Regions from separate parts of the Homo sapiens genome. Here all the other regions are linked to region 1. Evidence: promoter capture Hi-C in 16 types of primary human blood cells and fetal thymus (Javierre and others, 2016). All regions are on one chromosome and are shown on one strand. The core of a region is centred on a gene start or on the middle of the fragment in contact, and the rest is flanking DNA. Distances in the headings are between cores, read along the strand shown. Region 1 holds the start of FSTL4 (follistatin like 4). Region 2 overlaps LOC105379182 (a long non-coding RNA gene). Region 3 overlaps HSPA4 (heat shock protein family A (Hsp70) member 4). Region 4 has its middle 30 kb from the start of WSPAR. Region 5 holds the start of WSPAR (Wnt signaling pathway activating non-coding RNA).

The links. The method cuts DNA at HindIII sites, captures the fragments that hold promoters and counts their contacts. A CHiCAGO score of 5 or more calls a contact.
Region 2: a contact is called between a fragment that was not itself captured here and the fragment with the promoter of FSTL4 in region 1, in 3 of 17 cell types (endothelial precursors, M1 macrophages and M0 macrophages). The highest score is 9.5, in endothelial precursors.
Region 3: a fragment that was not itself captured here is called in contact with the fragment with the promoter of FSTL4 in region 1 in 2 of 17 cell types (total CD4 T cells and M0 macrophages); the score reaches 6.7 in total CD4 T cells.
Region 4: a fragment that was not itself captured here is called in contact with the fragment with the promoter of FSTL4 in region 1 in 1 of 17 cell types (M1 macrophages); the score reaches 6.1 in M1 macrophages.
Region 5: a contact is called between a fragment that was not itself captured here and the fragment with the promoter of FSTL4 in region 1, in 2 of 17 cell types (endothelial precursors and M1 macrophages). The highest score is 5.4, in endothelial precursors.

Annotation. Positions count from the first base shown.
Region 1 is chr5:133,611,135-133,615,768 of GRCh38, reverse strand. It overlaps FSTL4 (follistatin like 4), which reads left to right and starts at 3,228. Exons shown (of 16, transcript NM_015082.2): 1 at 3,228-3,444. RefSeq lists a silencer at 4,497-4,546. The HindIII fragment of the contact is 11,171 bases long and covers 985-4,634 here.
Region 2 is chr5:133,941,308-133,945,700 of GRCh38, reverse strand. All of the region lies in intron 3 of LOC105379182 (a long non-coding RNA gene), which reads left to right. Among named protein-coding and RNA genes, the nearest start is that of C5orf15, 25 kb to the left of the region's middle. The HindIII fragment of the contact is 4,627 bases long and covers 477-4,393 here.
Region 3 is chr5:133,105,944-133,110,114 of GRCh38, reverse strand. It overlaps HSPA4 (heat shock protein family A (Hsp70) member 4), which reads right to left. Exons shown (of 19, transcript NM_002154.4): 19 at 3,666-4,171. Among named protein-coding and RNA genes, the nearest start is that of HSPA4, 56 kb to the right of the region's middle. RefSeq lists an enhancer at 1,549-1,598. The HindIII fragment of the contact is 180 bases long and covers 1,307-1,486 here.
Region 4 is chr5:133,881,107-133,885,731 of GRCh38, reverse strand. No RefSeq gene overlaps it. Among named protein-coding and RNA genes, the nearest start is that of WSPAR, 30 kb to the left of the region's middle. RefSeq lists a silencer at 568-768 and enhancers at 1,113-1,612, 1,613-2,114. The HindIII fragment of the contact is 248 bases long and covers 2,717-2,964 here.
Region 5 is chr5:133,909,288-133,914,141 of GRCh38, reverse strand. WSPAR (Wnt signaling pathway activating non-coding RNA) reads right to left here and starts at 465. Exons shown (of 3, transcript NR_131252.1): 1 at 146-465. The HindIII fragment of the contact is 2,244 bases long and covers 327-2,570 here.

The DNA of each region.
Region 1 (4,634 bases), core at 1,979-4,478:
AAAGTTAAAAACAATTATGTATGTGTAATCTTAAGTCTAGGATCTTGAACTTACTGCCTACATTCCCTTAATTTCTAGGTGATTAATGAATTATCATCTTAAAAATAAGCATTAATATTAGACTTAGAGGAAAACTTCAACATCATAGCTCTGTTTAGATCAGAATAACTGAACTTCTATAAATACAGGCAAAATAAAGGCATAGACCTTTAGAACTGAAAATGGCCTTAGACATGTCGTTTAGTATGACTGCCTCCCATGTACCCATTCCCAATTCCCACTTAAGAGAAAACAAGTTCTGGGAAAGGTGTGACTCTCCCAGGCTCACTGAGCCCTAGAGGCTGAGGCGGGAGAGAGACCCCATCCTTGTGCCTCCCATCCAGGGCTCTCCTAAGCACAGGGCTGGCTCTTCAGTAAACTGCATGGTTTGGTTTGAAGATTTACAAAAACATTTTTTGAACAGGCAGCAGAACGTTAAATTATGCAAGACAAGGAAGACTCTTTCCTGCCTTTTCCCACCTTCTCACATGACTTCCCAGTCTGGCTTCTAATGGGTATTTCTAGGCACTGTTTGACCAGCCTAGTGGGGACTCCCAAGGGTAAGCTGACCCACAGTTAGTGATGCAGATACTTTTGGTTGGATCTGGAGAAAGTGCCTTGCTTCCTCCTGATTCCCATGGCTATGTGTCATCTCTGAGTATCCTGATATGCAGGTGTAATCTGAAATGTCCTAAGAGACACACATCATTTGGCAGTAGTTTTTCATTATATTGTTGTGTTTTTGGTAAGGATTAGAAATAGAAAAAAGATTTTAAACCAGCAACGTAAAAAAATATTTGGGTTGCTTAAACTTTTTGATCTTGTAAAAGTATATTAATAATGTTTTTATGTGTGTCTCTGGCTGAACCACTCACCAAAAACAGAGTGGGGCTGGGGGGCAGTAACTGGAATTTATGTTTCCTTTTAGCTCCCCTATTCCAAGCTTATTGAATTACATGAAGTTCAAAACTTAACCATTATTTCCCCTAAGAATCCTAGTTGGCTATTGAGAATCAGTATGCTTGCAAGTTCTGAAACAGGGTTTCAGGCAAATTTTGAAATTCTCAGTGTGAAATCTAGCCTATTTTCCAATTTGGGGTGTACTATTAAACAAAAAATTACACTGAGAGGTAAAAGCACAGAGCAATTCAAAGAGGTGTCAAGGTTACTGGCATCTGATGCTGCTTCCCTGGAGCCTTGTTTTATTTTGTCATTCACACTTCACCTTTCTCATTCCGAGGTGACTTTTAATTTCACTCTTATTTTATGCACAGTAGTTAAACAGCTCACTTCAGATGTTAGCATTCTCTCTAAGGAATATTCCATACATCTGGTTTGCAGCAACTACCTTCTTCTCCTTCTTTGGGAAGCGTGTAGAAGTTCAGTGCCTGTTCACTGCATTAAACAGAGCTATTTCTGATCTTGGTCAACCTATAGACCCTGATTTACATATGACCTTGAGTTACTAAAAAACAAAAAATACACAAAGTCCTGCTTTGATTATGTAATAAGGCCACTAGGTTGACTCAGGGACTTTGTGATCAGAGCTGAGAATAGAAATCTGCTTTTCCAAATACCTCATGTCTTAGAGGAGAGCCGAATCCAGCCTCTAAGCCATGGTGTACGTTCCTGACCACAGACTTAGAATTACATTTCAGAGGGAGGCACAGCACATTTCCAAACTTCCCTGCTTCCTTTTATACTCATTTTCTCTTTTCTGTTTCCCAAGATGAAAAGTGCCATCCCTTCCCCAGTCCTGCCATGGAGAATCTGGCCCCTAGCCAGCCCCAGAAGTTCAGTCATGGTGGCCTTGGCAAAGATTCATAGTCAAATCTGAGAGAGGATCACACTGGCTAGGGCCCAGGGTCACTGAGGATGTAGTAGCCTTTATCCTTCTGAGTAAAAATCATGGTATCCACATGGGAAGTCAACCAGGTTTTGTCCAACCCCTCATTTTACAAGTGGGGAAACTGATACCTACAGTAGAGATACGATTGGCTCTGCATTACATAGCTTGGCAGTGATAGAGGGAGAGCTGGACCCCAGACCAAAACTGTGTGATGCCAAGACCGCGCTGGCCCATTCACTGCTGTATCTCTAGCAACTATTAATAGCACAGTGCCTGCTGCATTGGAGGGGTTCAGCGGCAGGAAAATCTGTGGAAGGAAAAAACAAACGTAATATCTCTTTCTTCAGGTCAGCCTTCCATTATTCTTCCCCTTTTCCTTATATTTAACTAACTTCATCCTCAGAAAAATCCCCTCTGTCACCTCCCCCCGGCCAGGAGAGATTACAGAGGCATGGACAGAACACTGTTCACCTAAGCCAGGAAGGCCCCTGGTGCCCACGCAGCCAGAGCAGGAGGCAGGCCCTCAGAAAGTCTCCTGGCCATCAGCCTGGCCTGGGTAGGGGCTCCCTCCTAAGTTTCCTGCCAGACTGAGGCTACGTATGACCATTTATGGGCCCCTAGTTGTTACAAAGGTGTTTCCAGTTCATTCGGGAAGGAAGACTGATCTCAAAAGCTGCTGATGTTAAAGAGGGATTCAGAAAAGTTTGGGAGCCCCAGGCTTGGGGATGGGATCAGGATGGGGAAATATCCTGTTCTAAGGGAGAAGGGACCCTCTGGGCCCAGCTAGGTCAGGTAGGCAAATGTCACTTGGGATTGCCCCTGTATGCCCTGAATGTCTTAAGATTCTGTAGTTGGAAGAGGGAAGATTCAGAAAAGAGAAAACCTTTGCTGTTTCCCAGGTTGTTGGGTCTCAACGGCGGGGGATTTCACCCACTTTGTCCCCAGGGACAGCTCTCCTGCTGTGGTGTACCGGCCCGCCTGGACTCCACGAGCAATGGCCGCGGATTCAGAGACCCCCTGTGCGCCTGGAGAGCACAGCTTTGGGGAACCTGGCCCGGAAAGGAGCCTGGAGGAGAGCAGAGGTGAAGAGGGGCTGTCACTTGCCGAGCTCCACGCTAGCCAGAGGCAGGAGCGCTACGCTGGCCCTCCTCCCTCCGGGCCCTAGATGGCCCCAGCGCTCCGGAGTCATCGCGCCCCGCGTGCGCGCCCGCCTGCTCCGCGCACCTGCCGTGGCCGCCGCGCGGGTCTGACCGGCTGGCGGGCGGGCGGCGCGCACAGGTGGCGGCGATTGGGCAGGCGGGGCCCAGAGGGTGACGTCACGGGCTCCGGTCCCGGCGGCAGAAATAGGGCAGCCGCGGCGGCGGTGGCACAGCAGCGGGCAGCGGCGGCTCAGGGAGCTGGAGCCTCAACAGCCTCCAGCGAGCCCGGGACCCGCCGACAGCCCGAGAAACCAGCCGAAGGACGCGGGGCGGGGTCGCCGCCGCCGCCACGGGGTGCTCCCTCCCTCCCGCCCAAGTCCGGCCACCTGGTCTTCCCCTCGGCCCCGGCCGTCTCAGGTACGCGGGCGCAGCTCCCAGCGGGCGCGGGGAGGGTGCCATGTCGCTGGCGCCGCCACCAGCCGGTCCCGCTGCACCCCACTGGGGTCCTGGCGCCCGCGGCCCCGCATCTTGCTGCAGGGCCCGGCGCGGGCGCTTGCTTGTCCTTACTGCCCGCGCCGGGAAAGCCAAGTTTGCCCGCGGGGAAGGGACCGCTGGGCCAGGGCTCGGCAGGGCTACCCCGGCCAAGGCCAGGACTCGAGGAGAGGCTGGGACGCCGAGGCTCGTGGCCGGGGTCTACGGTGGGGACCGGAGTGACCCGGTTGGCACGCGGGGCGCCACGCAGAAGCGCTCGGGCCGAGCCCGCAGCTCGCGCCCGGCTCCGAAATCCTGCAGGCGCCGTTCTTGGGTTCAGGACCCCGAGCGGCCCCGGCGGAGCCAGGCGAGCGCGGCCCCTCGGCCCGGGCCCGGTGCCCTTGGCTCCGGGTTGGGGCGCCGGGCAGGCATTCTCAGCACCTCCTCCCCGCGGCTTTGCGGGGAAACTTGCGTCTCCTCGCTGCAGCCCAAAGGGCCCGCTGCGCTTCGCCTGGCCCTGGCTTCCCCGGGGTCCGCCGCATGTGAGGCTGGGGAGGAAGGAATCAGGGCACGACCCGACTCCAGGCAGCCTGCGGCGCTGCTTGTGCGTAGCCGGCCGCGGTCCAGAGTGAGCGGCCCGGGGTACCCGCTTGAACGTGTCTAGGGAGCAGTGTGTTGGGGGCGTTCAGCGTTCGGGCTGGGGGCTTGGTCCTAAGAGAGCTTGCACTGTGGATGATCTCCGCCCTCTTTGCGCCCGCAAAACAAAGACGAGTTCTGAGTTTCAGGAGGGACCTGGACGAGGCAGGCACAGCACTCTGCTTTCGGCGCCTGTCGCCTCGAGTTTGGGGACGAGCTGACGCTAGTCTTTGGGGCTCCCTGCAGCCGACAAAGCGGCGCCAACCCCAGGCCTGCCACCTGAGGACTTTGTGCCCGCAACTCTTGCGGGAGCGGAAAGCCGCCGAGGCAGTGGGGTTTCTTGTTTTCCAGAGCGCGGCGAGCCTCCGCGCGGCGCGGCAAGTGCACTAGGAGTGCGCGGGTCAGCGGGGCGGGCCCGGCGAGGTCGGTGTCGCGGCTCGAGAGCGGGTGCCGGGGCGCTGTCCAGCAGCCCTCGCTCGCGGCCGCGGGCCGCCGACACT
Region 2 (4,393 bases), core at 1,541-4,040, 330 kb before region 1:
AATCCCATTCCAACCAGAAAACATAGCATGCCACAGAGTCCACAGATTCCAGTTAGGCCAGGGAGAAAGGGAGTCCATAATTACTTCTGATAAAAGATACATGAATAGCCGGGCACTGTGGCTCACGCCTGTTACCCCAGCACTTTGAGAAGCTGAGGCGGGTGGATCGCCTGAGGTCAGGAGTTCAAGACCAGCCTGGCCAACATGGTGAAACCCCATCTCTACTAAAAATACAAAAAATTAGTCAGGTGCGGTGGTGGGTGCCTATAATCCCAGCTACTTGGGAAGCTGAGGCTGGAGAATCGCTTTAACCCGGGAGGCGGAGGTTGCAGTGAGCAGAGATCGGGCCACTGCACTCCAGCCTGGGTGACGGAGTGTGACTCTGTCTCAAACAAACAAACAAACGAAAAGATACATGAATAAGTAGGGAAAATTCATGAAGGTGTGGCCAGTATTGGATAAATGTATCCAAAGCTTTCTGATGGACCAGATTTTAAGAAAAGGATTTTCCTGGTACATAAACTGCTCAGAGCCTCCAAGAGTTTGATTCTTTCCTTCCAGCTCTCCTGGCACAGCCAGAGGAGGGTTTTGTGTGATTGGCCCTTGAAACATTATTACAATCACTTTGTGGCCTCCTTCAGCTTATTTTTAATTACAAGGTCTATTGCATTTTTAAATTATTAACTCTGACAATTACTTATCTTGGCATTTTCTTATCTCGATGAAAATGAAAACAGCAAGGTCATGTTAGCTCACTTGAGGTTTCGGTCTGCTGCAGCTTAAATTGAGCTGAATAGATCAGCAAATGTTTGCAGTGCGGGGACCAGCTGAGGTTGCAGAGGGTCTGCTCAGGGAACACGGGCAGAAAGAACTTGGCAACACAGAGGCTAGTTCAAGGGCGTTTGGGGCCCAGGTGATCGGAGCCCGTCTGTGGAAGTGGGAGGTGCCCTTGTAGGTGATGATGGCCCATAAGCAGCTTCTTCCCCTCAAGAGCTCTGCGTACATCTCCCCTGGGATAGACAGCCAGAGGCAGAGCCCAGAAGGCGATAGCGACCCTCTGCCTCACAGTAACTTCTTTCTCTGATCTTCTGTGGTGGTCCTCACTCTATGACAACAACAGCAACTAAACGATAACAATAAGTGACTGTTACTGAGTGCTTACTGTGTGTCTAATACCTTGCCCACGACACTTGGCAAATATCCATGGATGCTGGGCACTGCAGGCCCTCATCGCCATGCTGCCTTCTGTCCAGCAGGGGGTAGTGTGACTACACCATAAAGGGGACCTCCTTCTTTACCTGGGTTCTCAGGAAAAAGCATCTTCGAGTTTCTGCTGGATGCTGGAAGGATGCTTCTGGCAGTAAGTCCAAATCTCCGACAGTGAGGGCAAAAGAAAGCATGATTATCGGCCAGGCGCGGTGGCTCACGCCTGTAATCTCAGCACTTTGGGAGGCTGAGGTGGGTGGATCACCTGAGGTCAGGAGTTCGAGACCAGCCTGACCAACATGGTGAAATCCTGTCTCTACTAAAAATACAAAAATTAGCCAGGTGTGGTGGAGCATGCCTGTAATCCCAGCTACTTGGGAGGCTAAGGCAGGAGAATTGGTTGAACCTGGGAGGCAGAGGTTGCAGTGAGCTGAGATCATACCACTGCACTCTAGCCTGGGCGACAGTGCAAGACTCCGTCTCAAAAAATAAATAAATAAATAAATAAATAAAAATAAATAAAATAAAAATAAATTAAGAAGAAAAGAAAGTACGATTGTCATAACTCCCCCAATCTCAGGGCACCTGCAGGTCCATTAGTCCCAACCTGAAGTCCTTTGTTGTTCAGTCCCCAGCTCCACTGACTCCTCCAAGGGCAAAGGGCAGGCATGAACTTGGAGAAATGGCTTCGGCCTCAGTGGACAATGCTGGTACCACGGTAGGGTCCTTGGCAACATGCCTCCTTAGAGATACACAGACGGTTCCTCAACCTGAGAGCCATTTGGTGGGAAGTACAGATGGGGTGCACCCATCCCCAGATGTGTTATATGCATTAGCTAATGGGCACTGCTGTTGAGAGACTGCTTGGCCATTTGGGGCAGCTGGCTCAGAAGGCACGTCCCTCGGATGTCTGCAGCTTCTCAGCCAGAAACCCGTGAAAAAGTTCCATCTTTCCCATAGGCTGGGAGCCAGTCACACCCTGGGTATAATGCCGAAGGAGAAGGGAGCAAGACTGCTGGTGGGACATGGTTGTCCCACAGCAAGACTGTTGGTGGGACAGGGCTCCGACTGCCCTGGCCCTCTGCAGAGCCTCCTGAGTAGGTAAGGTAGTGGCTGGCTCTCTGCTCTGGATGATTTCTGTTGACCCAGTTCTGGGAGTGGTTTCATGGCTTGGGGAAGAGCCAAGAACTTCACAGAAAGGACTACACAGAAATTCGTGACAGCCCCAGGGCCTGCTTGGGACTCTGAGGGCTGAATTTTTTTTTTTTAAATCTTGGGGAGAGAGTTTTGGTTATGGTCCCCAGCAAAGACAGCCTGGGAGATTTCTTCTACCAGCCTCCGTGAGGAGTTCAGATCCTGGGTCCCTCAGCACAGTCCACATCTGAGGCTGTAGCTGTGATGAACTTAAAAATCAATGCTGCCGCCCAACCCCTTGGCTTCAGAAGTGCCCTTGGTTCAAATGTTCAAAGCAGCCCTGAGTTATCTTCGCGGCTTCTCCAAATTCCTCCACTACTCTAGGCCCCGAGGAAGGAAAATGTTAATCCATCTCAGACTGCCAACTCCCCCAACCCCAACCCCAACCCCAACCACCCTCCTTCTGCTAGGCTGGAAACTTTGCAAACTGGAAAATGTCTGTGTGCTGGAGGCCAATGCCCCTGCTCCAGGCCTCTTGCTCCCCGACCCCAGGCCTCATCCCAAATCCAGTCCTCCCTGTAAAGTTCCAAAGCTCAAAAAGCTGCTTGCCTGTGTGCAGGCGGGCACGCGATGGTGGTGGGAAAGCACAGATGCATCTGTGGGCCTCTCCTCTGGAGAGATTTGCCTTTCACTGCCTGAGATGCAGCTGAGGAGGAAATGTTCCCTGATTCCTGACCTGGTAGATCAGCTGGGGCCATTGTGTGCTCTGGTTTATAATATTAATAGGAATACTAATAATACCTGCCATTTCTTGAGCACTTTAACTAGGTTCTTCACCAGGGTTGTTCAATTTAATTATCACAAGAGCCCTATGAGGTAGATGCTATATAGAATATAGTATATATAAAATAATATAACTTTTTTTTTGAGATGGAGTTTTGCTCTTGTTGCTCAGGTTGGAGTGCAATGGTATGATCTCGGCTCACTGCAACCTCCACCTCCTGGGTTCAAGCAGTTCTCCTGCCTCAGCCTCCCAGGTTGCTGGGATTACCAGCATAACTGGCTAATTTTGTATTTTTTGTAGAGACGGGGTTTCACCATGTTGGTCAGGCTGGTCTCAAACTCCTGACCTCAGGTGATCCACCTGCCTTGGTCTCCCAAAGTGCTGGGATTACAGGTGTGAGCCACTGCGCCTGGCCACTTTTCTTTTTTCTTTTTCTTTCTTTCTTTCTTTTTTTTTTTTTTTTTTTGAGATACTGTCTCATTCTATCACCCAGGCTGGAGTGTAGTGGTGTGATAACTGCTCACTGTAGCCTTGACCTCCTGGGCTCAAGTGATCCTCCTGCCTCAGCCCCCTTTAGTAGAGATAAGGTTTCGCTATGTTGCCCAGGCTAGGCTTGAACTCCTGAGCTCAAGCGATCTGCCCGCCTCAGCCTCCCAAAGTGTCAGGGTTACAGGCCGTGTTTTCCGAGATTCACCTGAAGACTCTAAACATGAGACAGAGGGGGTAGATGGGAAGAGAAGAAAGGGGAGGAGAGGAAGGGAAGAGACAGGGTAGGGGGTACAGAGACACACACACACACACACACACACACACACACAGAGCGAGAGAGAGAGAGGTGTGAGGCACATTTGGAGCCAACTGTGCTTCTACCAGTAGTAAGACCACTGATGCATAAGTAAGTGTTTCTTACAGATATGGGCCACGTGGGGCAAAGGGCTGGCCTCATAAACCTGCCCAGAAGGGAAAGGTGACCCTGAAGACAGATGGACCCCCAAATTCCTGGAGATTGAGGGAGGAAAGCAGCAGCCACACAGAGGAACCTGCAGCCAAGTGTTCCATTTGGGGTTCCCAAAGAATCCACAAAGCACCCATGAGGGGAGAGTTCAGGCCAGAGAAAACCCGCCTTAAATGTTAGTTGTGAGCAAAAAAAGGCAATGCTGGGTGACACCGGTAACAGTCAAATAATACCGTTCCTGCCCTCCTCCTTTTCCCACTGCACACATACCCAGTGTGGGAATCAGAATGTCTTGATGGAGGGGCACTTTGGTG
Region 3 (4,171 bases), core at 147-2,646, 500 kb after region 1:
ACTGATGCTTAAGAAGTCACCTCTTTAGTTTCTACACTTCTTGCAATATCTGCTCAAAATAGCAGTTCACAAAAACAGTGGCATTCCAGGTTAGAGGGTCATGGCCCAGGGCTGCCCCAGCCAAAGCCAAGTACATCCAAGGAATGTACTGGCAACTCCAAGATTCCCAATGGTCTCAAGTAAGTGGTGGGAACCATCCCCATTTACACACAGGACACTGCCCAACCTCCTTTCTCGCAGACTGATGCCTCATTTCAGAGGCCAAGCTTCTTTTTTTTTTTTTTTTTTTGCTTTTTTTTTTTTATTTTTTTTTTTTATTTTTTTTTTTTTAATTTATTTTTTTATTGATAATTCTTGGGTGTTTCTCACAGAGGGGGATTTGGCAGGGTCATGGGACAATAGTGGAGGGAAGGTCAGCAGATAAACAAGTGAACAAAGGTCTCTGGTTTTCCTAGGCAGAGGACCCTGCGGCCTTCCGCAGTGTTTGTGTCCCTGATTACTTGAGATTAGGGATTGGTGATGACTCTTAACGAGCATGCTGCCTTCAAGCATCTGTTTAACAAAGCACATCTTGCACCGCCCTTAATCCATTTAACCCTGAGTGGACACAGCACATGTTTCAGAGAGCACAGGGTTGGGGGTAAGGTCACAGATCAACAGGATCCCAAGGCAGAGGAATTTTTCTTAGTGCAGAACAAAATGAAAAGTCTCCCATGTCTGCTTCTTTCTACACAGACACGGCAACCATCCGATTTCTCAATCTTTTCCCCACCTTTCCCGCCTTTCTATTCCACAAAGCCGCCATTGTCATCCTGGCCCGTTCTCAATGAGCTGTTGGGCACACCTCCCAGACGGGGTGGTGGCCGGGCAGAGGGGCTCCTCACTTCCCAGTAGGGGCGGCCGGGCAGAGGCGCCCCTCACCTCCCGGACAGGGCGGCTGGCTGGGCGGGGGGGCTGACCCCCCCACCTCCCTCCCGGACGGGGCGGCTGGCCGGGCAGAGGGGCTCCTCACTTCCCAGTAGGGGCGGCCGGGCAGAGGCGCCCCTCACCTCCCGGACAGGGCGGCTGGCTGGGCGGGGGGGCTGACCCCCCCACCTCCCTCCCGGACGGGGCGGCTGGCCGGGCAGAGGGGCTCCTCACTTCCCAGTAGGGGCGGCCGGGCAGAGGCGCCCCTCACCTCCCGGACAGGGCAGCTGGCTGGGCGGGGGGGCTGACCCCCCCCACCTCCCTCCCGGACGGGGCGGCTGGCCGGGCGGGGGGCCGACCCCCCCACCTCCCTCCCGGACGGGGCGGCTGAGGCCAAGCTTCTTGACCAAGTACTCAGCACCTGCAGCCTCACCTCAAGCCCCTTCACCCCACCCAGCTCCCACCCTACTGAAGCATCTAACCCTGCTGGCCACTGCCACATCTCACATCTCTAGCTCCCTTCCTCCCAACATGCTTTATGCATCATAACTCCTCTCTGGCAGTTCCTTCTTTCAAAGCTTTTACTTCCTCTTCCTAACACATCTCAACACAAGCCTTCATCCCGTCAATGAGGAACACGACTCCAGCCCCAAAAGCTTCCATCCACACCCACCTGGAGCTTCGATGTCTCAACCCCACCCAGGAAAACTTCTCAATCTAAACTCCCACCACATCTCCAATGACTCAAGACTAGAAGCTCCACATGTACAATCATATCCCGTATTCTAGGTTTGAAACCTTGGAGCCATTCTTCTTAAAACACACTTCTAGTTTTCTTAACATTATAAAATTCCTAAATGCTTTTATTAGTGACAGGAGGCGGTGGGGGGTAGGGGCTTGTCTCCCCATGTTGCCCAGGCTGGTCTTGAACTCCTGGACCCAAGAGATCCTCCCACTTTGGCTGGGATTACAGGCATGAGCCACCATGCCTGGCCCTAAATGCTTATTGTAGCAAACTCTGAAAACAGAAACAAGCAAAAATAAACAATCACCCACAATCCCACCCTAAAAACCACTTCATCTGGGAAAATCCTTCTGGCTTTTTTATTGCAAACCCATTTAATGTTCTTTCAAAACATGAGAGGCTATGTAGTTTTATAACCTACATTGTGTGTGTAAAAATGTAGGCCAGGCATGGTGGCTCACACCTGTAATCCTGGCACTTTGGGAGGCCAAGGTGGGCAGATCACAAGGTCAGGAGTTCGAGACCAGCCTGGCCAATACAGTGAAACCCTGTCTCTACTAAAAATACAAAAATTAGCAGTGCGTGGTGGCGCACGCCTCCAGTCCGTTACTCGGGAGGCTGAGGCAGAAGAATCACTTGAACCCGGGAGGCAGAGGTTGCAGTAAACCAAGATCCCGCCACTGCACTGCAGCCTGGGTGACAAAGCGAGACTCCATCTCAAAAAAAAAAAAAAAAAATACACACCTTTCTGTTAAAGCCACTTAAAATTATTGAAATAGATCAAGTGTACATGAGTACACTATCAAGTCAGATCAAAAAACAAGCATCACCAAGCCTCACATCATGTTGTCACTACTCCACAAAGAGTAACTACTATCCCAACTTCTAAAGCATGGTTTTCAGCTGGAACCATGCTTACATCTTCCCTCTTCCTGCAGGTACCAAAACCAGCAATTTTCCCCTTCATTTGGCTGTCCCCTCAAAGGTGGACTAAGTCCCACTACCTCCAACAACCCCCAGGCCCCCTGTGCCCCTGCAAAGCAGCTCCCACTGCCCCACAACAGAACCCTGATCTCTCAGGCCCCCACCTTTTAAGGAGACAGGGTATCACTTTATCACCCAGGCTGGAGTTGCAATAGCACAATCTCAGTTCACTGCAGCTTTGACCACCTGGGCTCAAGTGATCCTCCTGCCTCAGCCCCCCAAGTATCTGGAATCACAGGTGCACACCACCACACCCAGCTATCTCAGCTCTTTCTACCACATCTAACAATTCCCCTACAGAAACCACTTACATGCTCAGGAGGAAACCAAACCTACTAGACACACGTTTCTCAGACACGTGGCTACAATAGGCCCTGGGTAGGCCCTGGCAGGTAAGCTGCTCCTACAGCCAGAGGACTAGGACTGTGCAAGGGGCATGACCCAGGGAACAAGACCCCTGACCCCTCCTCGTCTAGACCCATGCCTTATCCAGTTAAGGTCTTTTTCACTGGCTTAGTGCCCTTTAAACACCCATCACCACCACATACATACACCAACACACATTCCACGCAGCCACACCACACATCCAGTGGCGCCAACTATTCTAGCACACTCTGGACCGCGCTGTTCTTTGGCCAGGTGTAAGTCCTAGCACTTACCTTTATGCCATAACCCCCGCCTTCTGCTAACAAAACCCTCAAAGTAAGGCCCAGTCACAGGAGCAAGACAAGGATTCCTAACACCAAAGGAACTGGGCCAAGACTCAACTGGAGAGTTTGAGTACAGAAAAATTAGGCAACATTTTCTCACAAAGTAGGCAGTGTGCTTCAGCTGTCACTCTTCAGACTGGAAGTCTTCAACGGATGTTAAGTGAAATTTAGCTCAGAGGGTTCCTACTCCTAGAGAACATTTTTATTGAAAACACACCCCCCGCCCCCACCCCACACACACATACACACAGACACACACACATACACACACACCCCCACACACACACCCAGCAGCCTTCATTATGGAATTAAGGAAACCATTCAAGTTTAAGACAGGTTTATTTTATTAGTTTTTCCTAAACTTGTCTCATGTTTACTGAATGATTTTCTTAGTGTAAGAACGTGACCTGGAGCTTTAACAAATCAGTTTGGATAACGCAACCTGGATAAATGCTTGTCTGTACACAAGCCATCAATTACCACTCTCTGTCCTGGCCTCCATGAAAATCCAATTGGTCTTAAAGCCTGTCTAAGCAGAGAGCAAGCAGACCACATCATCGTGTTTCAACTTGAAATTCACCCCCATCCCAGCACCCACACCCTTCCCCACACACACACACACACACACCAAAAAAAAAAAAAAAAAAAAAAAAAAAAAAAAAAAAAATTTTTTTTTTTTTAAGAAGAAATGGCCATTACGGTCTGGGCCAGTTGTAAAGGGTTGGCTTAATCCTGCAGCCAGCACTTTTAAAATAGCTACTGGCTTCACAGCAGGCCAGCTGGAACTCTTGAAGCATGACAGGTAGAGAACAGAGGATGTGCTAAG
Region 4 (4,625 bases), core at 1,591-4,090, 270 kb before region 1:
CTCCCTAGGGGCTGGTGGCTGGATGGAACCCCAGATCCGGCCTCTGGCCTCGCACACCATTGCCCAAGGCCTTTCCCTTGGGTGGCTTTTCTTCCACACCTGGTCTCGATTGGACCCTCACTTTGGAGGATAGGGGGTGTGGCCCGAAGACCAAGTCCACTCTGTTGCCCTCGCCTCCCCCCAGCTCCTCCTCCTCACAATGAGGCACCCTCCTCCCCCGTCAGCTCCCCCCGCTTTTCCCTCCCTCCTTTCTCTGCCTCCTCTTCTTCATCTTCCTCCTCCTATTTCTCCTCCCCCTTGTCCTGGTTGAAGAAGGAGTTGAGGCCAATTTGAGGGTAGCCTGTTGCTGAAGTCTGGGTGTACGGGGTGGTAATTGGTGTCCACCAGCTGTCTGGGCCCTGTCGTTGGGGGATGAGGAGGAGAGGCCTTGGGTGGCTTTCCTGCCCCAGGTTCTGACTCACAGGGAAGCGGGGGGACATCTGATTTTCTATGGTGGGGAATCCCTGGAACAAGGACTGCCTTGGGGCAAGTCTTCTGCAAGCTGAGGAGGCCATCTTGGAGGAACGCCTGTGACTGTGACCTTCAGAGGGCTCCATTTGTTGGGCTATGTAGTAAGTAATGTCATTAAGATGAATGTGTGTTTTGGTAAAGGGTGTAAATATATGAATAGTGTCCTCTCCAGCCCCATATATCACCCTGTGTTTATTCAGTGCCTGGTGCATAAGCTAGAAGGCACACATTGCTATTTGGGGCTGTGAGTTTTACAGTACATTAAAGGAGTTTACTGAAAACTCTTGGCAAACAGATAAAATACAATTACTCTCATTCCCAAGGCATTGCAGTCAGAATGTTCTGAAAACCTGCAGTGTAATAATTCACAGGAAGCCGTGGCAGGCAGCCTTTGAGGCATCAGAAGCGCTGCTTTTGTAAACTTCAGAGGCAGCCAAGAGTTGTCCCTCGGGAGACCCTCGTCCTGTGTTTTATTAACCTCCCTGTTTCTGGCTGAGGAGCTGCAGGGGGAGTCTAGCCGGCAGGGCTGGCTCCTGCCCTCGTGAGCTTTTCTAGGGTCATGGTGTGGGGGAGGAGGAGATGAGACCTCCTGTGTTCTGTGCATGCCTCCCTGTCCATGTGACCTTCAGCAGCAGGTTCTGCTAGTCAGTCACCTGGCATGATGGGGAATTCTGACTCCCCATGAAGTGTCGTCCAGGACTCTTAGCCCTTCCTGAGAAATGGGTGTTTTTGGTGGGATACGTGGAAGAAGGATAATAGGGATCAGAATAATTCCTGGTACAGAGGTGGAGTTGTCACCCCATGGAGCTGGGGCAAGATCCCACAGGTGCTCTGGCCTGCCCTGCTTCACCCTACTTGCCGGGGAGATGAGCATGCAGACTCTAGGCACCACTGAGCAAGCAGTAACCTGTGTCACAATGGGTGCTAGCGCTGCTGTCCGGAGCCCAGGGAGATCCAGGATGGTCCTGGGGAGGAGAGTTGGTAAACAGTAGATGGCTTAGCTTCTGGGCCTCTTTGCAGTTTGAGGTGGATGACAGTCAGAGAGCCAGAACTTTGAGGGCCTCGGCCCCTTCTCCTGGAGCAGAGGGAGCAGAGGATGGGCTTTCCTTGAGCAAGCCTCCTCCCTGGATGCCAGTCCTGAAGCTGAGGGTGGGCCCACTCCCTACAAGTTGGGCTGGGTCTGCTATGCTGAAGGCCACGGGTAGGCCCAGAGCATTTGTGGGAGGTGAGCAAGGGGTCTCTAGCCAGTGATGCATAGAGTGGGCAGAGGTGGCTGGAGGGCAGGGGCAGCCCAGTCCCTTCGATGAAGGCCTCTGCATCAACCAGCATCTGTGACCAAGTTCTCAGAGCAGAACACATCCTTGTGGGAGAAGCATCTTGAACAAACCAGAGACATTGCAGCAGCCAAACCCAAATCAGTTGCATGAGCTAAAATGCTGGGGGTCTGAGGTGTCAGGTGGGATGAAAGTCTGGAGGGAGAGATTTCTGGACACCACTGTCTACCTGCACTGATAGTTGACTGTGACACGGCACTCACTTGTGTCACAAAAATACAATAATAACGAATATCTGCCCAAAATGGTTGTGCTTGGAATTTACAAAGCATGCACTTCCGGGTGCCAGGATTGCTGGTAAAGGGCCAGAGGGAGTGTGCTCCCTGCGGCTGCCTCAGTGGGGTGGTTCGTGTGCTGTCCCTTAGGGAGGCAGTCCCAGGGCTTTCAGCCGGAGTCTGACTTTGATGTCTCTCAACTTGGTGGCTTGTTTTCTTCTTTTAAAGGCTGTACATGAGGTTTCCAGCTGCAAATGAGCATTGTCTGGTCCTGGTGCTTAGCACACACAGCCTCATAGCTAGGTGTTGTGCTTGGAGTCCAGGCCAGTCAGGGTTCTCCCTTGGTGCGGGGATTGGGAACACTCCAGGTGACCCACATGGACTCCACCTGGACTTTCTTTCAGTCCCAGGCTCATCGGGAAATTGATAGCTTTGGCTGAGATTTAATTGCTTGGATAGAATAATATAAAGTCTCTCAAGGGAGATCCAGAAATTAGACCTGCTTAGCTTCCTGGACTGACCCCTTCTCAGCCACAGCGGCTGTTTGAAAGCACCCTCTTCCACCACCAGTGAGACTGCGTAAGTGGTGGTGTTTAAAGTAGTTCGACGTTCGAAGGGGCTGCTTATTAATCCAGCATTAGTCACGGTAGTTAAGCTTTTAGAGATAATGAAATGTAAATGTGCCTCCAGGACATGCCGCGTTTCCTGAAACTGAACACATTCGTGAAGAAAAATGGTTGCGGTAAGATTATGAAGAGTATTAATTGTATGGATTTACATACTCTACAGATGGCAATGCAGATGCTGGGGACAGCCAGGAGCCATGCCAGAAGCAGGCAGAAAGAGGGGCCGGCCTTTCTCTGCCCTTCCTGTAGAGGATGCTGCCTCAACTAGATACCAAAGCTTTTCTGCTGGAGTTTGTTTGTGTGTGTGTGTTTTATTTTTATTTTTAAGAGACAGGGTCTTGTTATGTTGCCCAAGCAGTCCTTAAACTCCTGGGCTCAAGCAGTCCTCCTGCCTTGGCCTCCCACTGGAGTTTTATGAGTGGAGAAACAGAGGGTCAGAAAGTTTAGAAAACCTGTCCAGGGCCACACAGGAAGGAGAGGCAGAGCTGGGCCACAGGCCTGGGCAGCCTGATTAGGCACTGGCTTCACCAGCTGCCCGCAGAGCGGCTCCCAGGGTGCCCTGTCCATCTGTGTCCCCGGTGGGGGCTTCAGCGCATCACTCGGCATCTATCCTGACCACTTCTCTCCTCTACAGCCCTCTTCCACCAGGACAGTGACGCTTAAAGTCAGAAGAGCCAGTGATGATGATTTTTAATCAACAGGTGTTAATTACAGAGCACCTGTGCATGCCAGGCACCATGCCAGGCTTCAGGTTCTGTTCATCTTGGAGCTGACATCCCAGCAGTCAACAAATCACCACCAAGTAGATGCGCAGCCACCACGTGCGAGAAGGGCTGGGCAGGCAAAAGAAGGAGAGTGATGCGAGATTAGAAGTGATGGTAATGATAACAACAGCTGACACTGGTTATTCGCTGCGTGCCCCACACAATTCAAAACATTTAGAGGGGACGACATTGTCCTTTTATCTTCATAGCAACTCTATGGATTAGCTTTGCTTTAAGACGAGGATACAGGTAGAGAGCGATTAAGCAGCTTATCCACGGTCCACAAGCAGGTGAGCAACAGACCGGGATTTGAACCAGGAAGTCTGACTCCAGATCCCCTGCTGTCCAGCACTGTGTGTTATTGCCTCTTACAGAAGAAAAGTAAACTAGGATTACTCAGGAAGCAGGGAAGCCTTGGCAGCGGAGGGCATGCTCACACTGGACCTGGGAAGTAGTTGGCCATGTGCAGGCGGCAGGGAGAGGGGAGTTCCAGGAGGGGAGCTGGGAGTGGGGGAAACCACAAGAAGGGAAGAGCTGGGTGCCTTGAGGGAGCTAACGGCTTCCTTGGGGCTGAGGCTGGGAGGCCAGGCCAGTGGGGTACAGCTCACCTTCACGGAGGCCCCTGGGGCTGTTGAGCTGTGAGTCCTTATCCTAAAAGCCACAGGAGGCTGGGCCAGATTTCTGAGCAGGGAAATGGCAAGAGTGATCATTCTTTCTGAGGAAATTCCTCAGTGAGGGGATGAGCCCTGCCCCCACTTCTGTGCCCCCATCAGCTTGGGAAATTGACATTTGGTATTTGGGGAGGGCATTGAAGTCAAGGGCAGTCTGGGTGCAGCACAAGCATCTGTTGGCTTGCACAGTCCGTTTCCAGACTTTGAAGAGGGAGGGAAGAGCCTGGCCACATCACCTTCCGAGGTGGTGTGGTGTGCAGGAAGGATGAGAGACCAGCCAGCCCTAGAGCTGTGTGTGTATGTGTGTGTGTGTGTGTGTGTGTGTGTGTGTGTGTGTATGTGTGACGCCTTCTGAGACAGGACAATTGGTGAATGCATTAGCATTGGCATGCACATTAATCTTTGAGGGAACTGCAGCCCAGCCATGGCTTATTGGAAAGATTATAGCCCCGAGGAAAGACACACATTGGTTAGTAATGACCTGAAGTTTATGAGTCCCAGGACC
Region 5 (4,854 bases), core at 199-2,698, 300 kb before region 1:
TTGGAATCGAACCCCCTGGATTCCAGACTCTGCCTTCCCACAGGTGACTCACGTGCTTAATCCTCAGTTTCCCCCTCTATAAAATGGGGATTATATAACTCTACCTTATAGAGAGATTATGAGGGCCATATAAGATAATGCTTACCTTAGTGGCTGGCATATAACCAACAATGTTGGCTAGCTGTTATCATTACCAATTGTTAATTTATTAACCAGACAACCGGCCAAAATTGTACAGGAGTTAGCTCAGGTCCAAGGACTCCTAGAGGTCACTCAGGCTATACTAAAACCTGGAAGAAGTCCTCCTGGCACGATGGCCACAAGCTTGGGTTCCTGGTGGGATGGGGATGTCAGAACAGGAGAGGGGAGCTTAGGCTTGGGAGGGTGTCTGGGGCTGGTCTAGGCATCATCCATCACCAAGAAGAATCCCAAACGTAGATCTTATCCAAAGTTCAGCCAGGATGGAGACTTTGTCATGCTATTTAATCTCCTTGTAGTGTTAGTTTCCTTGTCTGTCAGATGAGGATAGTAATGTCCACCTCCCAGCGTGGTGACGACAGAATGGAATTTAGTGTAGAAGTTCTTTGCCCAGGGATTGGCATTAAGTACTCTGAGGTAGCTGCTCTAGGTGCTGACCTGAATCTTAACTCTCCCTGAGGGGTTAAGAGATGGTGGCTGCCACCAGGAGCAGTGACGCTGTAGTGTCCTGACATCCTTCACCAGGTCCAGGGCCCGTCTGGCCATTCCCATCTCCACATTCCAGGTCAGGAGTGGCGAATTCTTGTTGGAGAGTCCTCCTGCTGGGGTGAGTGGACTCCTGGCTCCAGGCGCTCCCTGCTGCAGAGTTCCCTCTCTCTGGAGCAGTTCAGTATGTTCCTGCTTGGAATTCACAGCGGGCTGCCTCTGCTCCCCCACCGCATTATTTTTCGAAGCAATGATCCAATGAAGCAATTACTATTCCAATCGGGATGGAGATCTCTGCAACCCACAGCCAAGCATGGCCTCTGTGGCGTCTGTTACTCTCCTTATCTCTCCCCGGGCCTCCAAAGACCATCTCCATTTTCATGCCCATGGACGATTTATAACAGCTGCAACAGCAAGGCCAGGATCCCCTCTGAGCAGAAACTTTTCTTAAGAAAAGGGGTTCCGCATTACCCCACGCATCTTTGTGAAGAAGCCTTTGATTCCACCTGTCCTGTTTGGATTCTGAGTGTTTTTTCTTCTTTGGAAAGTAAACTTAATTACAATTACGTTTTGGCTGGGCCTGGTGGCTCACGCCTGTAATCCCAGCACTTTGGGAGGCCGAGGCAGGCAGATCACAAGGTCAGGAGATCGAGACCATCCTGGCTAACATGGTGAAACCCCGTCTCTACTAAAAATACAAAAAATTAGCCGGGCATGGTGGTGGGCACCTGTAGTCCCAGCTACTCGGGAGGCTGAGGCAGGAGAATGGTGTGAACCTGGGAGGCAGAGCTTACAGTGAGCCAAGTTTGCGCCACTGCATTCCAGCCTGGGCAACAGAGCAGGACTCCTTCTCAAAAAAAAATTTTTCATTTTTCATTTTTTGAGACAAGGTTTTTCTATGTTGCCCAGGCTGGAGTACAGTGGCACCACCATGGCTTACTGCACCCTCGACCTCCTGGGCTTAAGCGACCCTCCCACGTCAGCCACCTGAGTAGCTGGGATGACAGGCACATGCCACCATACTCGCTTAATTTTTAAAAACTTTTTGTGGAGACAAGGTTTCACTATGTTGCCCAGGCTGGTTTCGAACTCCTCGGCTCAAGAGATTCTCCCACCTGGACCTCCCAAAGTTCTAGGGTTACAGACATGAGCCACCATGCCTGGCCTTACATTTTTTTTGAGACGGAGTTTCACTCTTGTTGCCCAAGCTGGAGTGCAGTGGCGCAATCTCAGCTCACTGCAACCTCCGCCTCCCGGGTTCAAGCGATTCTCCTGCCTCAGCCTCCTGAGTAGCTGGGATTACAGGCGTGCACCACCATGCCTGGCTAATTTTTTGTATTTTTAGTAGGAACAGCATTTTACCATGTTAGCCAGGCTGGTCTCGAACTCCTGACCTCAGGTGACCTGTCTGCCTTGGCCTCCCAAAGTGCTGGGGTTACAGACATGAGCCACCGCACCTGGCCTACATTTTATTGATAAACAAATTATGGCTACAGAGTTTAATTGTGGAACAGCAGTTCTACAGTGCTTGATTGGACATTGTTGGTATATGAAATTACTGCTCCAAGGTACCCTCTAGCACAAATAATTCCAGAGTGGAAGGAAGTAAGATGGGGTAGCCCCCAGAGTTGCTTCATATCTGATTGATGGTGTACAGACCTGGCCATGCGGATCCACATTCCATCTTACATGGCAGAGGTGGATCCCCAGCCTGGAACTGTGAAGAACAGGGACAGGCAGCATCCCAACCATGGGGAGCATTTAACTCCAGCCATGGGATCTTTGCACTTTGAAACAAGCAGTGTGGGCAGGGCGATGCTTGACCCTCTCTATGAAACCTTCCACTCTCACTCCTTCATCCCCTAGAAGTGTCCCTCCAAGAAGCTTAGCTGGCTTGGGCTCTAACCGGCCCTCCTTGACCCCTACCTCCCCTGGAAGCCTTTTCTGGTTAAAACCACTGGGACGACTATGCCTGGTCCACTCTTCTGTCTGGCTGCTCAGTGAGTTCTAGTTCCCCAGTGTTGTATGCCCCTGTAGTCCATGGGCCTCGGCCATTTCTGTAATGAACGTGGACCAACCTAGGACATGGGTAGCAGAGTCCTTGCTCCCCCCTGCGCAGGTATGTGAGCAGATATTCTTGAGCTTCATAAGAGGTTGAAAATCTATGCATCTCGGGTTTCCCAGTTCCGAGGCATTGAGTGCACATGTTGGTGGTTCTTGATTCAAGAAATTGCACCCAGGGTGCCCTTTCACAGGGAGGACAATTGGAGTTCATGCCTGGCCCCTTCAGACTGTGGTGAGGCACTCTGGCAGTGATAAAATTCCTGACTGTAATGCTATTGCTGTCTTATATCCTCTTCTTGCAATAAACCGTAGACTTGTAAGCACTGTCATTTTGGTCCTGTGTGTCTTGTTTAGCCATTGAGCCCTGTCTAACTGCCACCGCAGGTCACTTTTGCTGGGGAAGGGGGGTCTTGGAGGGACCATTTCCTGACATGCTGCAGAACTTCTCCCAGCAGCCCCGCCTGAAGCCGTCTCAATTGCCTGCCGAGTAGGACACAGTGTACACCTGGGCTTACAGGCAACTCCCAAGCCCTCTGGTTAGGATACCCAACTTTTCCCAAAGGGCCCAGCTTCAGAGCTGTCAAGACAATGAGGTGTTTTTGAATACCAACGCCTGGCGTCCCTGCAGGAGGACTCGGAACTGCACTCTCCCAAATCAGAAGCAATGGCAGTGTGACTGTCATCACATTTGTTATTCTCTGCCTGCATTTACATAACATTTCTGCAAAGTGCTTTATAATCATTTCATTAGTCATTCATTTGCTTGATTGCATAGCCTTCAATTCAGTTAGAAAATCTGATTTGAAATTCAAGTCTCCACTACCACAAGTTTTAATTCAGAAAAACTTTCTCCCCCACAGAATTTGGAAACATTTCCAAATTTTGAGTGAGCCCCATCTCACCAACAATGACCGGTTCTGGAGTACAAAGTGAAAGACAAATTTAAAAGAGGCTGCAATGGTGGCCTGGTTCTAAGATCTAATTTAGAAAGGCAGAGAAACCCTGCCCAGCGGTTGAAACATGAAGAGTGCTAGAGAAAGCACTGAGGGTGGCAATTAGACAGGGTTCGATGGATAAAGAAGATGCACAGGACCCAAATGACAGTGCTTACACATTTATGGTTTATTGCAAGAAGAGGATATAAGACAGCAATAGCATTACAGTCAGGAATTGTATCACTGCCAGAATGCCTCATTGCAGTCTGAAGAGGCCGGGCGTGAACTCTGATTGTCCTCCCTGTGAAAGAGCATCCTGGCTGCAATTTCTTGAATCAAGAACCACTGACATGAGAACGGAATGCCCCAGAACCGGGAAACCCGAAATGCAGTCTTGGCCGGGGCTTCTGATATCCTGCTGGTCACATATGCCTATTTCTTGTCAGGGTACCACACCAATGGAAGTGCCCTTTGGGGGCCTCATTGAGACCAGGTGCAAGTCATCAATCTCGCTGTTATCAATAAACAATGCATCAAGCTGGTACAAACTGCCCTGCAGCTCCATGGCCGGAAAACAACACTGTTAATCCATAAGTTTCTCAACCTGACCAGGGCTCAGCACTGTGTAGGTACAGCCCTTATTTTAGTAAGACAGCCCAGATGAATTCCAGGCCTGCTAGAAGTAACCCTCACAGCTCAGTTCCGGGAGTGTGTCTAAGAATAGAACCCACCCACCCTGCCACTGTGAGCTTGGGGAGCCACTGGGCTCAGCCTGCAGGGGGACAGGGCTCCCCAAACCCGACCATTGCCCTAGCCCCTCAGTGTGGCCCCAGTTGTCCAGCTTCCCCTGTCTCCTATTCATTCACTATATCATCACCTAAGCAAACTCCTGAGCATGCAGCTTTGACCATGTCTTTACTCAGCTGTCACCCTCTCTGTGAGCCTTACTCGACACCACCTACTCCCCTTCCCTACTTTCTCTTTCCGATGGTAACTGACATGATCCGTGTTTTGTCCTCTTAGCTTTGCTCATTGTTGTCTGTCCCACTGGAGTGTAGTTGCCACGAAGCAGGGTTTTCATCTGTTTTGTTCACTGTGCATCAGTGCTAGGGTGGTGAGAGCTTGGCACGTACTGAGTGAATGTCTCCCCTCCAGCACTGGCTCCCCCTGG